3 separate regions of the Homo sapiens genome follow, and all the other regions are linked to region 1. The links are contacts of gene promoters, found by promoter capture Hi-C in blood cells and fetal thymus (Javierre and others, 2016). All regions are on one chromosome and are shown on one strand. The core of a region is centred on a gene start or on the middle of the fragment in contact, and the rest is flanking DNA. Distances in the headings are between cores, read along the strand shown. Region 1 holds the start of LINC02416 (long intergenic non-protein coding RNA 2416). Region 2 overlaps PCED1B (PC-esterase domain containing 1B). Region 3 overlaps PCED1B (PC-esterase domain containing 1B).

Evidence for each region. The method cuts DNA at HindIII sites, captures the fragments that hold promoters and counts their contacts. A CHiCAGO score of 5 or more calls a contact.
Region 2: a contact is called between a fragment that was not itself captured here and the fragment with the promoter of LINC02416 in region 1, in 2 of 17 cell types (activated CD4 T cells and total B cells). The highest score is 6.1, in activated CD4 T cells.
Region 3: a fragment that was not itself captured here is called in contact with the fragment with the promoter of LINC02416 in region 1 in 1 of 17 cell types (monocytes); the score reaches 5.5 in monocytes.

The regions. Positions count from the first base shown.
Region 1 is chr12:47,352,415-47,355,134 of GRCh38, reverse strand. It overlaps LINC02416 (long intergenic non-protein coding RNA 2416), which reads right to left and starts at 1,367. Exons shown (of 4, transcript NR_183615.1): 1 at 1,253-1,367. The HindIII fragment of the contact is 14,565 bases long and covers 1-2,720 here.
Region 2 is chr12:47,111,658-47,114,377 of GRCh38, reverse strand. The region is part of intron 2 of PCED1B (PC-esterase domain containing 1B); the gene reads right to left. Among named protein-coding and RNA genes, the nearest start is that of AMIGO2, 33 kb to the right of the region's middle. The HindIII fragment of the contact is 886 bases long and covers 934-1,819 here.
Region 3 is chr12:47,134,775-47,137,494 of GRCh38, reverse strand. All of the region lies in intron 2 of PCED1B (PC-esterase domain containing 1B), which reads right to left. It also overlaps the pseudogene IFITM3P6. Among named protein-coding and RNA genes, the nearest start is that of MIR4698, 52 kb to the left of the region's middle. The HindIII fragment of the contact is 6,185 bases long and covers 1-2,720 here.

The DNA.
Region 1 (2,720 bases), core at 118-2,617:
TTGATTGGATTGAAGGATGCAAAGCACTGATCCTGCAGGTGTCTGTGAGGGTGTTGCCAAAGAAGATTAACACTTGAGTCAGTGGGTTGGGAAAGGCAGACCCACCCTTAATCTGGGTGGGCACCATCTAATCAGCTGCCAGCATGGCTATAATATAAAGCAGGCAGAAAAAAAAAAAAACAACAAAAAAACATGAAAAGACTAGACTGGCCTAGCCTCCCAGCCTACATCTTTCTCTCATGCTGGACCCTTCCTGCCCTCAAACATCAGACTCCATGTTCTTCAGCTTTGGGACTCAGACTGGCTTTCCTTGCTCCTCAGCCTGCAGATGGCCTATTGTGGGACCTTGTGATTGTGTGAGTTAATACTTACTAAACTATATCTATATCTATATCTATATATCTATATCTATATATATATATATGACTCAAATGTTAATCTCCTTTGGCAACACCCTCACAGACTCACGCAGGATCAGTGCTTTGCATCCTTCAATCCAATCAAGTTGATACTCAGTAATAACCATGATAATAATCGATATATTTTATGCTTCAAAATTGTAATCAATATTTCACGCTTCAATATAACTTTTTTTATAATTTCATCTTTTATTTTAGATTCAGGGATACATGTGTGGGTTTGTTACATGAGTATATTATGTGATGCTGAGGTTTGGGGTACAATTGATATATATATATATATATCATATATATGTATATATCATATATTATCCCATTAGTTCTGTCCCTCTAGAGAACCCTGACTAATACAATTATAAAAACCAACAAATGCCTACTTGACATACCCACTTGATTATATAATAGATATCTCAAACTTAACAGCTCTCAAATGGAATTTCATATTTCCCCCTGCCCCAGACTGACCCACCTCAGTTTTTCCTATTTCAGTAAAAGTCACCACGGTTTTACTCAATTGCTTGGGCCCAAAACTTTGGAATCTTATTGACCACTCCCTTTCTCTCCCTCTCCATGCCCAATCCATCAAAGAATACATGTAGAATTAGCAACTTTTCACCTTTGTCCCTACCAGGCCCAAGTTGTGGATTGCTTTCACCAGGACAATGACCATAGCTTCCTGTATGTATCCTGGCTTCTCCACTTACTTTGTCCTGTCTATTTCTCTGCACAGCAGCCAAATGGATCCTTTTACAAACATTATACCGGTTAAGTCATTCCTGTACTCAAAAAACCCCACAGCAACTTTTAATCACCATAAAATCCACAATCCTTACCAATGTACAAGGCGCTTCTTGATGTGTCCTCCGGCCACCTCTCCAGATAATTTTCTGTCTTTTTTACCTTGTTCAGTGCATGTCGCCTATTCTGATCTGTTCATCGTTGCAGTTTCCTTTTTCTTTTCTTTTCTTGAGACGGAGTCTCACTCTGTCGCACAGGCTGGAGTGCAGTGGCACACTCATGACTCACTGCAGCCTTGACCTCCTGGGGTCAAGTGATCCTTCCACCTCAACCTCCCAAGTAGCTGGAACTACATTCACAGACTACCATGCCCACCTAATTTTTGTATTTTTTATAGAGGCAGGGTTTCACTGTGTTTTGCAGGCTGGTCTCAAACTCCTGAGCTCAAGAGATCTGCCAGCCTTGGCATCTCAAAGTGCTGGGATTACAGGCGTGTGCCACTGTGCCTGGCCATAAGCTACACATTGTTATATTGAGAAGATCCTCTTGAAAACATATGAGTTACAGCTGGCCCTCTGTATATGAGGATTCTGCATCTGCAAATACAACCAACCATAGACCAAAAATGTCTGAAAAAAATTAAAATGACAACAACAACAAAAAAACAAATAAAAAACCAACACAATGCAACAACTATTTACATAGCATTTACATTATATTAGGCATTATAAGTAATCTAGATATGATTTAAAGTATATGGGGGATGTGCATAGGTTGTATGCAAACACTACACCATCTTATATCAGGGATTTGAGTATCTGCAGATTTTGGTACCCACAGGGGGTCCTGGAACCAATCCCCCGTGAATACCAAGGGACAACTTTATATGTAAAAATTAAGGCTGCTGGATGGATACATTTTACCAGCATATATCTTGGTATATGCATTACTGTCAAACCCACTATTCACAAAACTTCTGCTACTTTATTTCTTTAATCCATCTTTGGTGAGGAAAAAAATGTGTGTACCAAGCTGCTGGTAGACGGCACCAGTCTGCATAAGATAATAGCCAAAACCAGAACCCCAAGTCAACATGCATGACTTGTAGAATATCTGAAGTTAATAATGTTCATGTAACCCAAAAAGAGCTAGTGGATTTTAGGACCAATGATAAGGATATTAAAGATCAAAGAGAATGAAATGTCAAAGAGAATGAAATGAAACCAGGTTTCTTAGTATCTGAAGAGATTTCTATTACAATCTCTCTATCCATAATTTGAAGTCTATTATCTTCTCCTTAAAATTGGACATTTGAAATAAATAAAACTGTACAAAAATTAGGGCAAATTACAATAGCCTGATAATTACAACCCCAAACTATATATTACTTTTTAATTTTTTAACAGATTGGCAGCCAGAAAAGAATATTTTCTTTGTATTTATTTTTTAAACAAGTAACTTTGAACTTACTTCACTTCCTTCCTTCCTTCTTTCCCTCCTTCCTTTCTTCCTTCCTTCCTTCCTTCCTTCCCTCTTTCTTTCTTTTCCTTTCCTTTCCCTTCT
Region 2 (2,720 bases), core at 127-2,626, 240 kb after region 1:
CTGCTTTTAAGTCATAAGTTGGACTTGAGGCAGAGGGCCTGAGTTTGAATCTAAACTCTATCACTTACTTTCTATGTGGGCTCAGTTTCCTCATGTGTCAAATGGGAGAGATTAGCATCCAACTTGCAGGTTTGGTGTGAAGATAAAAGTGTAAAAGATAAGCCTCTAAGTGGCACATAGTGGATACTCATGAAGGTGTGCTGAATCTGAATTCTGATAGCTGCTCTCTCTGTACAAGTGTGCTCCTGTGTTATGGCTTTGCATCTTTCCCCAAGCCCAGTAAATCTGTAGTCAATTATCTAAGTCCTAGATTCCCATCTGGAATCACAAGAGGAAGAAAGAACTATGCAGACATACAAAGGGTTTCCCCATTGTGTACCTCTAAATAAATTATGTGTGTGTGTGTGTGTGTTTTTTTTTTCTTTTTTAGATGGAGTCATGCTCTGTCACTCAGGCTGGAGTGCAGGGGCGCAATCTCGTCTCACTACAAACTCTGCCCGCCACCACACCCAGCTAATTTTTGTATTTTTAGTAGAGACGGGGTTTCGTCATGTTGGCCAGGCTGGTTTCGAACTCCTGACCTCAGGTGTTCCACCTGCTTTGGCCTCCCAAAGTGTTGGGATTACAGGCGTGAGCCACTGTGCCCAGCCATGCAATTCTTAAAATTACATTCTTAAAAAAAAAAAATTGCATTTTGGCTACACTTTGGACATATATGGTTCTCTGCATACAGGTCCCACAGATTTCTGATGCAAACTAAAAAGCAGTACAAATCTGGTAAAATCTGATTGTCTGAAGCCTCTCAATCTTTCTGCTCCTTTTGGGAGGTGGGGGTAGAACAGGGGAATAGGATTTGAAGCAGGAGCGTCATCAGTATGGAACAATGCAGTATAAAGCATGAAAGCTGAGCAAACAGTCAGATCTGGACAAGCTTCTTTCTCTTTGTTGCCAAATTTGGAGTAAAAAATGCCTCATCATGTCATGGTTGTGAAGATTGAACTAAATCATGTATGTAAGCTGCCTAACACCGTGCCTGATACATAGTATATGTTCAAGAAAAGTGAGGTATTTTCATTCCCCTTCTGTGATTCCTAAATTCAGAGATTTTCCCATCTTCTGAATTTCCATAGCCGTCTCTGATACCATATATTATGTCCTCACTTGTACAGTATTATGTAATTGAGTATAAATCCTCTCCCCTACTTCTTTAGAACAGGGACTCTGTCTGAGCATCTTAGTATATCCCAGAGACCAAACCCAGTGCCCAGCTTTACAGAATGAATAAGACATCCCCAAGTCATTGGGAGGGGATTGTGTATGTTTTTAAATAATGCTAGTTCTGTTGTCCAGTTTTTGGTAATAGATTGTAAAGGCAAACCTAACAAGAGTGAAGGAATATCAGTTAAGAGGAAAGGAAAGGAAATTCCATTTGCTTTTGCACACAGCAGGGCAGTCGTATGTGCAAGGGCTGACATGCCCAAGAAGCTGTTACCGCTCTCTGCAGGCTGAGGCTCTTTACTGTAAAAATGAAACTTTAGTCTCTTAGCTGAAGGAAGGAAGCACTTGAATAATCCCAGTACTCCCTGGAGCCCAGGGAAGAATTGAAGAGTCTTCCAAAAGGCATAAGAGAAAGGCAGGTACTATGTCTATTACAAACACTGGCTAATAATGTGACCTTACAGAGTTTTTAAGAGACCACACATTGGAAGGCATCATGGTAAAATAATGTACCCTGGAAGTAGCTTTTTACGACAAACACTCAAATTTCTAATTACTGAGGTCCAACATATAGATTGTGATTAAAATCACAAACAAAGCTTCAGCTAAAATCACCGTTTTGTTAAATAGAAACAGCCAGGGAAATAGTGAGTGGAAGTGGTTGCTTCATTTCCTCCACTAACATCATGGAATATGGAGAGATATATTTTCCTCCAGGATAGAAACTTAATGAAGTATAGAGAAATTTGCTAAGAGAATCTTATTAAAATGGATCTTACTTAAAATTCTAAAGCATAGCTTTTAGTCTTTAAACAATCAAGACTCTGTATTTGGAAGTCATTAGGAAATAAAGTCACTTTTCAGTGGACTGAGAGGAATCCCCTGATGCAAGTTTGGCAGAAGTTTCCCTTGGATAATAGATAGGGAGTGTATCAAGTAATTCCAGATTTTATGCTGTGCTTGGTGCAGTATTGGCCATAGAACAAGTGTTAAATAAAATAATAGCAACATATGACATGGAAAGCCTGATTGATTCTCCTATTCTTACTGCTAAACCCACATACCAGATGGTAATACACACCCATAATCAAGCACAGAGCTCGCGTGGGCTGGGGGTTGGCAGCTCTGAGTCAGGTGGGCTGCCTTTTCTCTGGCCATCTTATGGAGGGGCTACACGACCCCCACCAACAGCTTATGAGGGGCAGTGCCGGTGCCTTTGAGCGATCAGAGAACCCATGAATGGATAATCCATGAATGATACTGAATTCCTTCAAAGATGTACAAAATGACATCGGCTCCCTTTACCATGAGAAGAAGTGACTTTCTAATAAGATCTGTAAATAAACCGAGGTACCTCAGCTAGAACAAGCACAGCTGGTTGCTTATGAGACACTTGGAAGTATTTATTGGCTCTTTAAAAAAAATTTACCTTGAAGACATTATGCTGAGTGAAATAAGCCAACCAAAAGAACAAACACAGAACAATTCCACTTAAAAGGGGT
Region 3 (2,720 bases), core at 138-2,637, 220 kb after region 1:
TAAATGTTTAGAAATTAGGATAGAAACATCTTAGAAAAACGTATACAAGAATCTAATAGCATTCTTTTAGGTCTTACATTATATAGCTTAAATATTTTGTCTCCAATAACAGATAAATTATTTTTGCAAAGGATTGCCTTGGATTTGTTGATGATTCCACTCTAATCACATCTATATTTGAAGACATATTTTGGACATGATCAAATAAGAAGCTAGCATGTTTAATCAAAATATGCCATTAATTGTTTAAATGTGAAGGAAATAAAAAATGAAATTAAGACTTTGTTTATATTCATATCATGGGAAATTTTCAAAATAGATTTTGTAATCAGTACCAGAACCTTTCACAACCTGGAGAATGGCAATAAGACATTGCTGAAAGTAGTCTACAGATATGTTACTTCCCAACAATTACAGTAATCGAGAGTGTTGCATAGTTTGCAAAATACTTCATGAGTTCTTTTAATTAGCAAAACAAGGTATTGGCTAGGAAGAAAAGTTATTATTATTTTCATTTTATAGATGAGAAAACAGAACCACAGAAACTGAGGGAGTTACCCAAGGTTACGTGGCAAAGGAGTGACGGTGGCACATCTAGAATCCAAGTCCACTGACTCTCATCATAATGGCCTTTTTATATCATGCTTCTCTTGAACTATGACTTGTCTTCTAGTATATGTAGATATCGTTTATACTTAAAAATTTGCCTAATACTATCTCATAATGATGCTAAGATTATTAAAATGGAAATTAAAGTTTGTAGATATCGTTTATACTTAAATATTTGCCTAATACTATCTCATAATGATGCTAAGATTATTAAAATGGAAATTAAAGTTTGTCAACAGTGTTACTTAAAATTGGGAAGATTAAGGAGTATGAAAGACACTGAAGAACTACTTTCAAAGAGTCATCTTTTAAAGTTCTGGTGTGCAAGTTTTGTGCAGTGCATAAAGGCATGAATATTTGGTTTCTTTCCCAGCTAAGATCACTCAAATTTCCCTTGGGTACATCATGCTGCCTTCTTATTATTCACTTATCCTTTAAAGTAGGTGACAATTTGGCTTTTGTTATCACCTATATCTCATTTTAAAGTGAAATCAGCCTGAAATTCTTTGCATAAGAGGGCTTAAGAAGTCTATCTGTTAAGATAAAGGGAAGAAAATAATTTATTTCAATCATTAGAAACTTTTGACAGGTGGACAGGCTAATTTTCTTGATTTACAAAGCGCTCATTCAAATGAATTGAAAGGTGAGCAAATCAATAGAAAAATGGGCAAAAGATAAGATCATGCATCTTACAGAGCAAAAGTACAAATGGGCAAGAAGTATGTGAAAGATGATTATAATAAAGGAAATGAATACCAAAACATGATATATCTATCAAATTGGCCAAAAAAAAAAAAAAAGAAAGAAATTGAATGGTGAGTACTGGTGAAAGTATGGAGGAAAAAAGGCTACTGTACCCTTTTGGTGGAAGTGTAACTTTGAATGCTCTCCTGGAGAGTAACTTGTTCTTATCTATAAAAATCTTTTTTTTTTTTTGGAGAACCATCCCAGCAACCCAACCACAGCTGGTTCTCCCTGGAGACCATGAACCACACTGTCCAAACCCTCTTCACTCCTGCCAACACCGGCCGCTCCACCAACCATGAGATGCTCAAGGAGAAGCATGAGGTGGCTGTGCTGGGGGCACCCCACAACCCTGTGCCTCCAGCGTTCACCATGATCCACATCTGCAGTGAGACCTCCGTGCCCGACCATGTCGTCTGGTCCCTATTCAACACCCTCTTCAAGAATTCCTGCTGCCCGGACTTCATAGCATTCATCTACTCTGTGAAGTCTAGGACAGGAAGTCTATGGACAGGAAGATGGTTGGTGACCTGACTGGGGCCCAGGCCTGTGTCTCCACTGCCAAGTGCCTGAACATCTGGGCCCTGGCTCTGGGCATCCTCCTGACCATTCTGCTCATCATCATCTCAGTGCTGATCTTCCAAGTCTCTCGATAGAACAGGAGACAGCATCCGGGCCAGGAGCTCTGCCCACAACCTGTCTCCCATGCACTCCGCCTTCCATTCCTTGCCCTGCCCCCAAAGCTGAGTCCTGTATCAGCCCTTTATCCTCACACACTTTTCTACAATGTCATTCAATAAAGTGCATGTGTTCGTGGTGCAAAAAAATAAAAATAAAAATAAAAATAAAAAAATTAACTTTCTTTAACATATTAGCTGGTACTTTGAATAAAAATCTTAATTGCATATATCCTTTGAAGGAGCAAGCCCATTGTATGAAATTTACTATAGGAATATAGTGATGGAAGTTCACCTAGATCTATGGACATGGACACCAAACTCATTAATTAAAGCATTATTTGTAATGGCAACAAACTAAATGACCAATTCCTATCAGTAGAGATTGGTGAAATAAAGTTAAATCCATCGGTGCAAATACTGGTTCCTAAAAGATACTGTAATGTATGTATATGAAATGATTCTCAATATTTGGTAATAAGTTAAAAAATGAGTGAAGGGGTATATATAGTGTGAGCTCTGTTCTGTGGATTAGGAAAGAAGAAAAATAGATTGAAAATATATGTGAAAACATGTATATGCATGTATATATCTTTTTGAGATAGAGTCTCACTCTGTCACCAGGCTGTAGTGCAGTGGCACAATCTCAGCTCACTGCAAGCTCTGCCTCTGGGGTTCAAGCAATTCTCC